Linked DNA regions of Homo sapiens: region 2 is linked to region 1. Evidence: promoter capture Hi-C in human tissues and cell types (Jung and others, 2019). All regions are on one chromosome and are shown on one strand. The core of a region is centred on a gene start or on the middle of the fragment in contact, and the rest is flanking DNA. Distances in the headings are between cores, read along the strand shown. Region 1 holds the start of KCNJ13 (potassium inwardly rectifying channel subfamily J member 13). Region 2 overlaps INPP5D (inositol polyphosphate-5-phosphatase D).

Region 1 (6,663 bases), core at 1,948-4,447:
CAAGAGTCCTGAAAAAACAGCAGAGACTGGAGAAACTGCAGTGTATCAGAATCTCTGAAAAAGGTCCTCAGGCCATCTGAATATGTACCACAACCCTACAGCCCTCATGCTCAGCTGTCTGCTGGTACATACCCAGAGGCTGCCTGAAATCTGTGGGAAGGCAATTCGTAGTTGGCTTGGACATGTGGAAATGGAAAGAGACTAGGCATCTTCAAAAGAAAGCCAAGTACACTATGTAAGCAAGAACATGGAGACCAGAGCTAACGTTTTAAAGCTGTGAGATTACCTACTTACATAGGCCAGAAATCGCACTCCAACTGAAGATTTTACTGTTCTCAAGAAAAATGTGATACATTTATAGATATATAGTGAATTATTTCAGTCAGAAAGAAAATCAAATGCCTTTAGGGACAGAGGACTAGATTTAATACAGGATAATTAACCAGGTCTTGGTACCTTGTTTAATTTAATCATTATAATTTTGGAGACACAATCCATCAATCTATGAACAGGTATTTACCATTTATGTTCATTCACCGAAGAAATGTTTTAGAGCCATCTCCAATTACCTTACTGTGAAACAGCTACAACAGAAATAACAAATTGTCTAGATGGGAAGGACCATGAGTTTCTGGGTGAAGGTGGCATATCATCTGTGCCAATATCCGTGTCATCTCAGTGAAGGAGCCCCAGGAAACACCACCCCAAAATATACTGCTTTGGTATGCTCATTACTGCAAACTGAGAGAACTTAGGGAACAGCAAGCACAGGGAGGGGCCTTCTCTGATGCCCCCTTATCTCAAAAAATTCCTTTGTCCCCTCCCTAGAATTTCATCAATCAGGGAAGATTAACCTTATCACATAAGAGATTAAAAGGTCTAGTAGCGTTCTTCCTCAAGTTAATTTTCAATACCTGAAAGACTTTATCTCAATAACTAGACAACTTTTGTTCATCATACATTTCCTCCCCTCATTTTCCCACAGCTTGTCAATACCTTCCCCCAGGACCTCCACATCCCTATTCCAATGCTATAAGAACTTCAATCATCTGGTCCTTCCTCAAGTCTCATGTTTTGTGGGACTCTTGTGCATAAGGATGTAAACTGTTTTTCTTCTGTTAAGTCTACCTACTGTTGCTTTATATTATAGACTCAATTATCAAACCTTCAAAAGGAAGAGAGAAGGTCTTCTCTCTCCCCTACACCAGCTAACCTGGTAACTTCAACCAGAAATGACTTTAAATGCTCAGGCTATTGTAATGGGAGAGCTATGCTCCTAAGTGGGCACTTCAGAGCTGGTCTACAATATTCACAGCAGTAGGAATCACTGTTTATAGACCATAGCAAGACTTTCAAATTGTAGAGATCCAGAAATTAGCTTCACTTAAGACATTTCTTTCTTAATTGAAGATCATTTTGCCAAATCATTTTTGTCTCAATATATTGAAACCAAGTATACTATGGAAAAAGACTTTTAAGTTTAATAAAATCCTTAACTGTCTTGCCTACTATAATATGTATTCTCAGGCCAGGTGAAGTGGCTCATGCCTGTAATCCCAGGAATTTGGGAGGCTGAATTGAGAGGACAGCTTGAGCCCAGGAGTTCAAGACCAGCCTAGACAACACAGCAAGACCCTGCCTCTACAAAAAATAAAAAATTAGCCAGATGTGGTGGCATTACTGCAGGGGGTGGGGGATGAGGTGGGAGGATCACTTGAGCCTGGGAGGTCGAGGCTGCAGTGAGCTGTGATCACACCACTGCACTCCAGCCTGGGTGACACAGCAAGACTCTATGTCTAAAAAAAATGAAAATAAAAAATATACAATGTATATTCAAAACACATGACAGATACACTCAAGTGCTTCTGCTTTCTAGAAGCAGTATTATACTATACTTGTTCTAGTATTTTGTTGTTGTGTTGTTCTGTTTTTCTGCAATTTGTTAGCTGGGAATTGATACACATTATAATTCCTACCAGTACATGCAGGGAATGAGCATCACACCACAAATCCTTCTTTATACTTTACCTTCCCTAGTTCTGAAGGTCAGTGTTTCTAATGCTGTGTCTGAACTTGTGTTGAAGTATTTGGTACTAATAAAACAAAGAAGGAATTAATATATTTTTTAAATTGTGGGGCGGGGGGGGGACGGAGAGGATTCTACAAAGGCGGATTTCACTTTCTAAGTAGCATTATATTGGTCTACATTAATAATTTTCCCAGCAGGCCTTCCAAGATTTTACTTTGAACAATCACAGTCTTTGTTTCTCAGATCCTCTTACATGTGACATTTGGTCAAAGTTTTAAAATCAGCAGCTAACGGAGGAGGAGAAAAGTACTGTTCACTAAGGCACTGCACAAAGCCATACCACAGCACGTTTCAGGGTTCCAACAAGCTGGATCACATTTTCCAGCTAAACACTATTTCAATGTTGTGTTACATTTTCTGTACACTGTACACTATGTTTTATTAACACTATACTTCATCACACTGATCAGGAAAACATCTTCTAAACATCATTAAAATAAGCCTTAAGAAAATTCTTCGGTTCTTTCCCACAGGTGTGCATTTTTTAAAGTATCAGGTACAGAACAATTAATTTTATTCCTATTCAAGGTCTTTGTATACAGCCTTTAAAAAAAAAAAGTTTGTTTCCTAACCAAAAAAATAAAAGATTTCACGTAATTATCTATATTACTAGTTCTGGAACTAATGGTAGCCATTCTGATGAGACATGAGAAGAAAACTAAGAAAATCAATGCATTAATTTATGCCTATAAGTCCTTATCCAAATAAATCTTCCCCAAAGACATGGTGGAAAAAAAAAAAGATTAGTAAAGGAAATATCTCACACTTCAACATGCTATATAAGGAAAGACGGCTGAAAAATCTTGCAGGGAATTTTATCCCTTTGAACTTTCAAAAAAACTCTTAAGTAAGATTATGCAAACTTACTAAAGACCGGTCCTGATTAGAGGGAAAAAATGCACCCCTTCTCCAAGTCAGTTCTGGAGGCTTTCTCCAGAGTTGTTAAGGTTTGTGTTGGGTAAAGAAAGACCTCCTAACAAACCAGCATTCTTTTCCACATGATCAGAGCTAATTGGCCCCCCTGCAGGCTAAGTGACCAATCACATCAACCTCAGCTGAAACCAGCCCCCACAACATTATAAACAGAGGAATGTAAGCTGTAAAACCAGTCCAAGAAGAGAACCTACAAACTAGACTTGTAGATTAAAATTATCTGATCAAAAAGGCAGACTCTGTAAATTTCCTTAAGACCTACCTTGGCATAAAGGCTGACCCAGCAAAAGAACTGGTGAGTACATGCAATAATATCCATTCTTCTTTCCTTATGGGAAACAGGGAAAGAAACTGACTGGCAAATAGCAACAGAGCTAGATTACTTCCAACAGATTTTTAAAACAAAGACATTATCTATAGTGTAGGATAGTAAGGTTTCTATATTCTTTTCCCTTAAATCTTAAAAATGCAATAACAGCCATATTGAATGTATTACTGGAAATTTTCTTAACTGTTTTATTAAATGTATACTAATTTTCTATTACAATATATCAGTAGAGGATAAAGGCCTTAGGAAAAAAAATTCAGTGGCTTGAGGAAAAAAAAAGTCTTTTTCTTTTGGAAGGAATTTCAAAAACCCAAAATGAGCATAAAAAAACAAATGCCAAAAGAATAAGCCACTTTGTTTTTACTTCTGTAATCTAAGAAGAAAGTGATGAGTATCCTAATCGTAAATTTTTAAGCATGGAATTATTGCGGAAATTAATAGATACTTCTGCAACTGAGAAATTAAAATAGAATCTCTGAGCTTATATAACAGGGTTAGAACTCAATAGTGTTTGCCCTAATTGTGGAGGGCAGGAGAAATCATTATAAGACTTTCAATATAGTCTTAAAGTATTTACACCAGACATGAACAAATACATAGTAATGCCATCTTCATTTAATGTTTGTTAGTTATAGCCTTTATCTTAACTCCTCAGTATGAACTATACTATTTTTTATCATGGCAACAGAAAATACATACTTTTAAGTGCTACAACCCAATGAGTAGAATGAATTCTGATGATCAGTGAAGCTGCCTATCATTTTTTAATAGGTACTATTTTTCCTCCAAATAATTTATAAATGGGCAAATATTTTACAGCCCACACACAGCAATAGAAGCAAACCTTCCCAACCTTCCACCTCACTTTCTATTGGGATCAGCTGATGAGACTTAAATATCAGGTAACAATAGTATAATTTTTTAAACCATACGAGCAGACATCAAACTATACAGAAATAAAAGAAATCATATAGGAAACTTGTATCCTTTGTAGGAAGTGGAAATATGTTTGTTTACATAAGTCTGTAGAGCTTTAAGAAATCTTATTATCATAATTCCCTCTTTTTTCACTTTCTTTGTTTTAATCTAAGGATGCCAGGCCAATGGGATTGAGTGGTTTGCCCAAAATGACACAGCTATGTAACCAACAGTGCTAGAGCCTGAAGGCCATATCCCCTTATCCTGCGTTCTCTACACTAAACCACACTGACTATAAGAGTCCACAGAATAGTTATTCAGGGTAATTGGTTAAGTGGGAATCAGAAATCAATCTTCCTTCTCTATATTACTCCACTTGCCAACACAATCCAAACCAAATCCAGCAGTCTTAGGTTAAAAAAAAAAAAATGCTGCTTAACTGTTCCGATTATCAGCCTTTTGACTTCCCTGTTCACAGGTTTTTCCATGTATTTAGTTGCAAGAGAAAAAAAATACAATTGTAAAGAGCCTAGAGTAAGAGTGCTACAAAAGTTGTAGGTAAGAAGTAACAACAGTCCTGAAAAAGCCCAAATGAGAATGATGAATTTTGTTAGCTACAGTCTATACAGAAAGGCTCTAAGTAAGGAATTTTAGAACTTTCATAAAATAGGTTGAAAATACAAAAGAATCATGGAGTTTTTTCTTTCTCAAGCTTTTGTGAAACACTAAGCACTTAGCAGCATTCAGTAGGACAGTGGCTCCAAATGTGGAACAAGCACTAGTGTCCAGGAGCATGAGGGGCATTTTCACATAGGCAGGAAGCAACAACAGTGGAGAATGACAAAGTTGTTCACCCACCATTTTGAAGGCAACCAACTATCCTTTCATTGTTATATCCTTCTTCCATGTGTCAAAATCTTTTATTATGTCATCATAATTTTATTTATAATGACAGTATTATACTTGTAAAATTGTCTTCTCATCTGGCAAAACAGAAACTTGGCAATGTTATGTCATAACTCTCCTCTCTACATTGCTTTAATTTTACTGATGTGCAAAACACAACTGGACTATCTAATAATTCAGACTGTGATAATCTTCAAGTCTTGAAAGAAGTCTTTCCTAACTGAATATCTGTTTCTAACCTACAAATAATAGGTCTGAACCCAATAAACATTACTGAAGAACAAACACTCTGGAGCGGCTCTTGAACAAAACTAATCAAATGAAACTGTATTATTCACAAAGGCTAAGCAGGGTCAAACATCTGTTTTGGAGGCAATATGGCACTAACTCTGGACTCAGAATGTATAATATTCATATCCACCACTTACTACCTCATTATACCTCATTTTCTTTCTTTTTTTTTTTTCTTTTAGAGACAGGGTCTCGCTATGTTGGCCAGATCGGTCTTGAATTCCCGACCTCAAGCAATCCTCCCGACTCAACGTCCCAAAGTGCTAGTGTTACAGGCATGAGTCACCATGCCTGGTTCCTCACTTTCGTTATCTGTAAAATGGGACTAATAGTGATACTTATTACTGTGAAACTTAAGACACCTTTTTTTTTTTTTTTTTTTTTTTAAATAGAGACAAAGTCTCACTACGTTGCCTAGGCTGGTCTCTAACTCCTGGACTCAAGCAATCCTCCTGTCTCGGCCTCCCGAAGTGCTGGGAGCCAGACACGTTTTTAATAACAATAAAGCAACTAATACTTTACTGAGAGCTTACTCTGTGCCACTGGCTTCACATCAGTTTGTACATATGAAGTATTTGGTATGATTCCTGGCACATGCTAAACAATATATATATTAGCTAATATTATTAATCATTACTATCTAAAGAATCATGAACAAAGTTAACAATGGTTTAATACAGATACTTGAGACAGTTTCAGGGGCAAGAAAGGCATCTACTAAAGGTGCTAGAAATTTGGCTATCAAAGACCTTCTTGAGAATGCAATATCAATCATTTTTGGAAAGACTGTTATTTCACCAAACGCTTCCTGTATTAAAAAAAAAAATTAACTGGCTTTGAAGTTAGCTAGACTTGAATAACCATCCAAATAATCCAAAGCTCCTATTTGCCTTGTGTAAATTTCTTTTATCTGTCTGAGCACCAGTGACTTCATCTGAAAATGGGAACAATGGCTATCTTGTTGAGATACTGAAGAATTAAGAGATAATACAGTATGAAAGCAGTTATCACAGTGCCTATGAAGATTTTGTTGTTTCCAAAGCGTAGAGATCAGGTCTCCTAAAACATTTAAAAATAATCTAACAAAATAAGGGTCATTAAGTAGCTATGCCAAGAAAAAAGAATACACTAAATGATTATGACAACTTGTTAGGGTAATAAGTTATAAAACATTAAAATAATGCACTAAGATTTTTTA
Region 2 (7,099 bases), core at 2,894-5,393, 310 kb before region 1:
TGGCAGAAGAGTTAATTCATTCAATAAGTATTTATCAAGCACTCACTACATGCTAGGAATAGTTCTAGTATAGATGATAAATAAGTCAATATAAAAATGTATATTTTCAAATACCTCAGGGCTGGGCATGGTGGCTCACACCTGTAATCCCAGCACTTTGGGAGGCTGAGGCGGGCAGATCACAAGGTCAAGAGGTCGAGACCATCCTGGGCAACATGGTGAAACCCTGTCTCTACTAAAAACACAAAAATTAGCTGGGTGTGGTGGCATGTGCCTGTAGTCCCAGCTACTCGGGAGGCTGAGGCAGGAGAATCACTTCAACCCGGGAGGCAGGGGTTGCAGTGAGCTGAGCCGAGATTGTGCCACTGCACTCCAGCCTGGTGACAGAGTGAGACTCCGTCTCAAAAAAATAAATAAATAAATAAATATAATATAAAATCAGGTAGTCACAAGTGCCACAAAGAAAAGAAAGGAGGGTAAGGGGTTAAAGAGCAACAGGTGAAGGGTGGGGTGACTATTTTTCTGGGGTGATCAAGTGAGGCCTCTCAGAAAGACTTTCTTCTATTTGGCAAACCCGAAGTGGCCTCTTGCAAATCTGACAGACACAATTAGACCCGGAAGCTGATCTCGAAGGGCAAAGTCAAGATGAGAAGCGAAACCATCCTGCAATAAGCAAGAAATCATGCCTCCCCAGTGCACAGACATTGTTAAAATACTGATTGATTTTTGTGCTTTTTCTGGTCAGGGTTAGAGAAAGAGATGTTGAGCCCAAGGATGTCTGACAGGAACATAAGTCATTAGGAATGTCTGGGACAGGGCTGGAGCAGGTCCCAGAAACACGACACAGGCTAAGGAGAAGGAAGACCCAGAGACTGTGTTGTCAGACCGTGGCTCATGGGCATTTGGTGCAGTGAAACTCGATATTCAATTTGAAATTTTCACTTTTCTGCTTTGAAATTCCCCTGGGATAGTTTAAACCTTTGTAAGTTAGGACACTTTTAGCTGTTAGAAAACCCTAACTCAACTAACTTGAGCAAAAAGAAATTAATTAACTCACAAAACAGAAAATCTAGAGGAGGGCAGATCCCAGGTTGCTTCATTCTGTTCAGCAAATTCAAGGGCATCATCCAGGACCCAGGTTCACTTCTCCTTTCCGTGTGTTGGCCTCACTCGCCAGCTACCTCTCCTCATGGTTACAAGGCAGCAGCAGAGACCCAGCTATCACATCCTATGGCAGCTTCCAAAGGTAGGAAAGAGGCTATCTTGGCTGGGTGCGGTGGCTCACACCTGTAATCCCAGCACTTTGGGAGGCCAAGGCGAGCAGATTACCTGAGGTCAGGAGTTCGAGACCAGCCTGACCAACATAGTGAAGTCCCATCTCTTCTAAAAATACAAAAATTAGCCCGGCATGGTGGCAGGTGCCTGTAATCCCAGCTACTTGGGAGGCTGAGGCAGGAGAATCACTTGAACCCAGGAGGCGGAGGTTGTGGTGAGCCGAGATCATGCCATTGCCCTCCACCCTGGGCAACAAGAGCGAAACTCTGTCTCAAAAAGGAAAGAAAGAAAGAAAGAAAGAAAGAAAGAAAGAAAGAAAGAAAGAAAGAAAGAAAGAAAGAAAGAAAGAGGCTATCTTATCCCTATGTCTGTTTTTAAGACAAACAGACCTTTACTAGAAGCCCACAAAGCCCTTCTCTTCACATCTCATTGGTTACACTTGCATCCCATTCCCCAGTCTAAACTTATCGGCTACATGGTGCATGTTGATGTTAGTTCTAGACCGCTTTGGGTAACAAAGACAGGAAACAGGCCCATGATCTGGGGCAAGGTGAACCAGAAGGCTCTGGAACATGGAGAAACAAGGACAAAATGGCTAGTGGGGATGGGGAGAAAATAAAGACAGTCATTTGGAGGTAGAGATGACAAATGGCATGGATACTCTTTCCAGAATTCTCTGACAGACTGGGGAAGGGATTAGGGATCTTGCAGCCACACAAGAGGGAGGGGCTGCTCAGTCACAAAGGCATGTGTACCCCAGGGGGCTAGAAAACGGGGGGAGGCTTGGCTTTCTCAGGGGATTAGAAGAAAGATGCCAGAAGAGCTGGAATAAAAACTTACTCAAAGACCTAACAGAAGAAAGGTCTTTTGTGTCAAAGAACAGAGTTTGCAAAGTGAACAAGCCGAACACATTGCAGGTACTATCAATGAAAGGAAAATGACAACACTGGAAAAGAATTCCCACCGGCTTCAAAGTAGAAAAAAAGAAAAAAATGGGTCGCCTCTATAGGAACCAGCACAAGTTTGGCCTTGGATTTTGTACTCGGAACTATTCATAACGCTACATTCTTTTTTTTTTTTTTCTTTGAGACAGTCTTGCTCTGTCACCCAGCTGGAGTGCAGTGGTGAGACCTCAGCTCGCTGCAGCCTCTGCCTCTCAGGTTCAAGCGATCCTCCCACCTCAGCCTCCGGAGTAGCTGTGACTACGGGCATGCACCACCACACCCGACTAAGTTTTGCATTTTTAGTAGAGACGGGGTTTCACCATGTTGCCCAGGCTAGTCCCAAACTCCTGACCTCAGGTGATCCACCTGCCTCAGCCTCCCAAAGTGCTGGGATTACAGGAGTGAGCCACTGCACCCAGCCTGTAACACTACATTCTTGAAGGTAGTGCTGTACCTTTTACAGGATTTTGAGCGAACAGTTGGTTCCAAGAATTTTATATCTATCAAATTACTCTTGAATGTGTAGACAACTAAAGATGTTTTGAGATATTCAGAGGCTTGGAAAATAGATCTGTCCATATTCTGCAGTAGACAGAAAAACCAATTCAAAATGCAGGCTTCTAGAAGGTGAGTGTCAGAGCATAAAGGAACCCCTCCACCAGCACGGACCCCCTTGGGGCCCATTGTCCTTGGCATGGCTGTGGAGCCCACACAGGGCAGCCCTGGCCGTGCTAGGCTTCTATGCCCTGAACCTTTTCTGTGCCCCTTGTTGTGCAACTTCAGGAAGTGTGTTAGAGCCACATCCTTTGCCCGGCGGCTCAGACGGAATCTTTACTTCACTCAGTGACCACTCAGAACAATAACAGCTGCCACTCGCTTCCTGAGCTTAATAACAATGGCTCAACCGTTCACCTCCCGGATGCTTGTGACGGAACAGCTTTTAGAAAGTTGTTTTGTTTTCCCTCTCCAAAAGCCATGTCGCCCGGAGATACGTGACAGCCACCGTCAGGGACCAGGGACTTGAGTCACAAGTGTCTCTTCTTTAGAACTCACCGGAATGGCTCAGACCACTGGATTTTTTCTTCCAAATCGGGAAAGAATAATGAAAGGGTCTATGAGATAGATATTTTCTAACTCTTCATCTAAACTTGCATGAAAACCTGGGAGTGTGGCTGGGCATGGTGGCTCACGCCTGTAATCCCAACACTTTGGGAGGCTGAGGCGGGTGGATCACTTGAGCCCAGGCGTTTGAGACCAGCCTGGGCAACATAGTGAAACCCTATCTCTACAGAAAAATACAAAATTTAGCTGGGCATAGTGGTGCACACCTGTAATCTCAGCTACTCAGGAGACTGAGGTGGGAGAATTGCTTGAGCCTGGGAGCAGAGGTTGCAGTGAGCCGAGGTCGCGCCACTGCACTCCAGCCTGGTCTACAGAACAAGACCCTGTCTCAAAAACAAAACAAAACAAAACAGAAAAACACCTGGGGGTGCTCCCATCTTGACTGAAACAATCAATATCCTAGATACAATCTCAACCTCAAGAAAAGACAGGAAGTTCACAGAGAACATTGATGTGATAGGGGATTATGGGTAGTTCTAATTTTCTGCTTTATTCCTCTCGGTGGGAAGGATGTTAGAAAGGACGCAAGGGCCAAAAGGTTGTAGGGTGGAGCCGAAGGGCCTCTTTTGCTTCAACTGTGGCCCTAGGTTTGAGACAGCCATTTATGCGACACGTCTGAGGCCACTCCAGGCCTCCCTGGCCACCCTGGAGCTGGCCCATGAGGGCGGCTTGCAGGACCTCAGACTCTTCCTTACTTTCCCAAAGAGGGGCCATTTCAAAGGCAGCAGCAGCCTCCCAGCTCAGTCTGCAGCGAGCAGCTCAAGATAGGCACCGCTTCTCTTAGGGGAGAGTCACTTCCCTTTCCAAGTCAAGAAAGGAGTTTTGGCTTTACAAGAAACCCACTCTCTTGGTGTGGGACAGTCAGGCCTGCGGGGCTGAGCCGTTCTGCCTTCGTCTGGCCTCACACAGGGCTCAGAGCACTGCCCCAACCCTCCCCCAACCAGGAAAAGCAGTGCAAGCTGAGTCCAGAAGGTTCTCAGGGTTTGAGTGGCACAGCAGCTGTTGAACAACTGCTTAACAGTTCCAGAGCGTACTCAGGTCCCTGAAGACATGAAGCCCATAGCCCAAAGAGCAGAGCTGAGGGAGATGGAGTTCCAAAATTTACCCCTCCTTCCCCACCACTCCCAGCACTGCCTAGAATGCTCTAAAGCACCTCCAGCTCCCTGCTGTCTCCACCCTCCTCCCCAGCAGCTTCCTTGTGCTGGGAGGTATGTGTGTGATCTCTACTTTCCAGCAGTTTCTTGGCAGTCCTTGCCCAAGGCCACATCGCTGACCAAATTGGACTTGAACCCAGATCCCAGCCGGGAATGGAGTCTGCTTTCATTCTAGGGGCACCTCACTGATTTACCACAAGGGACAGATGCCACCTGGGATCAAATATTATCTATAACCATGTGAAGGGCAAGAGGCCAAGCTCTCTGAGAGGCCACATTGCCCTGTCTCCCTGTCCCTCTGGGCAGAGTCCTGGGCTCATCCTTCCCCAGGGGACTCCAGACAGGCTTGGAAACACCTTCTGGATTGGAAGGAAGAAAGCTTAGCCGGGGAGGCCGGGAGGCCTGGCTGTGAGTTCCAACTTCCGCAGTTCTCAGCAACACTCATATTTAGAACGAGGGGGTTGGATGAAGTTACAGTTTGCATCCTGCCCTCCCATCTCGGATTTTTTTTAAGTCTGTGAAAGATGGAGTGAGAGAAAAGAGTCCCCCAGGTGAGGCAGCTCCTCTCCCTGATTGATACAGGGCTGTCATGGGCTATGACACGTGGGCCAACTCCATGAAGTTGGTCTGCAAAGAACAAAGATGAGATCTTTGGTGTTGACAAGAGAACAGAAGTCCCCAGGAAAAGAGCTAAAGTTACTAAACTAAGAAACAATGAAAGCCTTTCGGTGCTTCACTTGGCAAAATTTCAGGCCAGATTCTTATTTTGGGGAGCCTCGTATTCTGGTGGCACTGAACAGGCTCAGGTGTCAGGAATGAGTTATTTAGAAACTGTGGCTAAGCTCAGAAAAGACTGTGAGGTTTTGCCTCAACATGAAAAGAGGAACTTGAGTTAAAATAGGCAGAGATCAATAACTGCTAAAGCTTCCCCGAAGGGCTCTGAGTCTGCTTAATTGGGCATGAGTGTGCACTTGGTCCTCAGTGGACGTCTGCTGTCATTTACTCTTGGAGGTAGATTTTCGAAGGTGAGTCCACCTGGGAGAATCCTATGAGAATTCCCCTTTAATTCACCTTGAAGGAAAACCTCTTCAGACCACCTAGGTCCACAGCTCCCTGTACCATGTCAGCTACTGCGGAGGTCACAGATCTAGTGCCGGGGTCAGGAGCAGAGAAGTCCAGCAGAGCCGCCCATCTTCTCTGAAAGCTGCCCGCCCACTGTCCTGGCTAAGCGGAGACCTTAAGGAGGCACGCTGCCCCCACGACTCTGTCCCCATCTCTGAGAGGCAGAGGGGGGTACCTGCTCCAAGACAGCCGATTCATACACAGACTGGCAGCCCCTGAGTGGCTCATGCGGAGAAAGCCGTGGAGGCTGAGCCATCAGACTCCTTCTTAGGACTGGGGACTGAGAAGGGAGGCTGCTGGCTGGGAAGAGCGGCCCCACAGAGAAGAGCTGATCCATGGGAGAAGCTGCGTGCAGACCCCATGCTCTTCTGGTTCCAAGGCCCTAGGGCGGCCTTCTCCTTCCTGGCTCTGCACATCTCCACAAAGGCTGCCCACCCCTTACCCCTTACAGAGTCAGCCAAGGCGAGTTTCTGTTCCCTGCACCACCACCACCCCCTGCCCAGTAGCCTGATGAGGCCCCGGATTTCATCAGCAGTTCCCAGGGTCACAAGATGTCACAGTAGCAAGAGTATGATGGTGACAGAGAGGGGCAAACCGGAGACGCAGTCTACACATTTACAGGCGGCGGGTGCCGACTCTACTAGAAGCCACAGAGTCATGTCTTTTCCAGTCATACTTAAAGTTTTCTTCACTTTGAAGGAAGAGAAGAAACCACAAAGGGAAAAAAGATCAAAAGCATCGACCAACTTTTAACTTAAGAGAGTTTGCCGACTCCTCTCAGCAAACCACCTATCACAGATGCCAACTCTGCCAGAAAAGCTCATGCCCTCCTAGACTTGAAAAAAATGGTAGAGGTCATTGAGGCCAACTGCCTGCCCCAGACAGGGCTCCCCTCCGCTGCTCACATCCCACACATGGTGAAGAGCCCCTGTCAGAGACAGACATTCCCATGGCAAATAGCTGCCAAGCGCTGGAAAGGACCTTCTCGTACTAGGTGTGCCAACATCTGCTCCTGGTGACTGCTAAGAACCAGGCCAAACCTGCGGGCGCCCTAGGCCAGTGGAAAGCCTTCAGCAGATGTGCCTTAGAGGCTGCAGTGGACTCAGGGGCAGGAGGATGAGGCAGCCGGCAGCAATGCCAGCCTAACTACGCAGGGAGTGGTTCTGCTTGAGCCTAAACTCGCATCTCCTAAGGAGGCCTCGCAGCAAATGCCCCTGGACCGGGCTGCATCACACATGCCCCTTGGGCCTCTCTCAATCACATCGCTCCTCGAAGCAATTCCTTCCATCCTCATAAGCTGTCTTCCTGAGGGGCGTTCTGCTCACCACGCTCTCCCTCTTGACAACTTCTGGAGGATTTTTGCCTCCAGGGACTTGCCTGTGGTCTCCCCACACCTTGAGTCCAGCTCCCTGTCTACTACTGCATCCTAGTTAGCACAAAATGAATCATTCCCTTCAAGCTTTGAAACTGAAGAGTGTACCC

The links. The method cuts DNA at HindIII sites, captures the fragments that hold promoters and counts their contacts. A contact is called where the count stands out against the background at its distance.
Region 2: a fragment that was not itself captured here is called in contact with the fragment with the promoter of KCNJ13 in region 1 in 1 of the 25 tissues and cell types used here (spleen).

What each region holds. Positions count from the first base shown.
Region 1 is chr2:232,773,099-232,779,761 of GRCh38, reverse strand. KCNJ13 (potassium inwardly rectifying channel subfamily J member 13) reads left to right here and starts at 3,197. Exons shown (of 3, transcript NM_002242.4): 1 at 3,197-3,317. The region is part of intron 8 of GIGYF2 (GRB10 interacting GYF protein 2); the gene reads right to left. The HindIII fragment of the contact is 9,389 bases long and covers 1-6,408 here.
Region 2 is chr2:233,080,645-233,087,743 of GRCh38, reverse strand. The region is part of intron 2 of INPP5D (inositol polyphosphate-5-phosphatase D); the gene reads right to left. Among named protein-coding and RNA genes, the nearest start is that of INPP5D, 24 kb to the right of the region's middle. RefSeq lists enhancers at 2,871-2,920, 5,291-5,440, 5,951-6,040 and a silencer at 2,911-3,205. The HindIII fragment of the contact is 4,211 bases long and covers 2,038-6,248 here.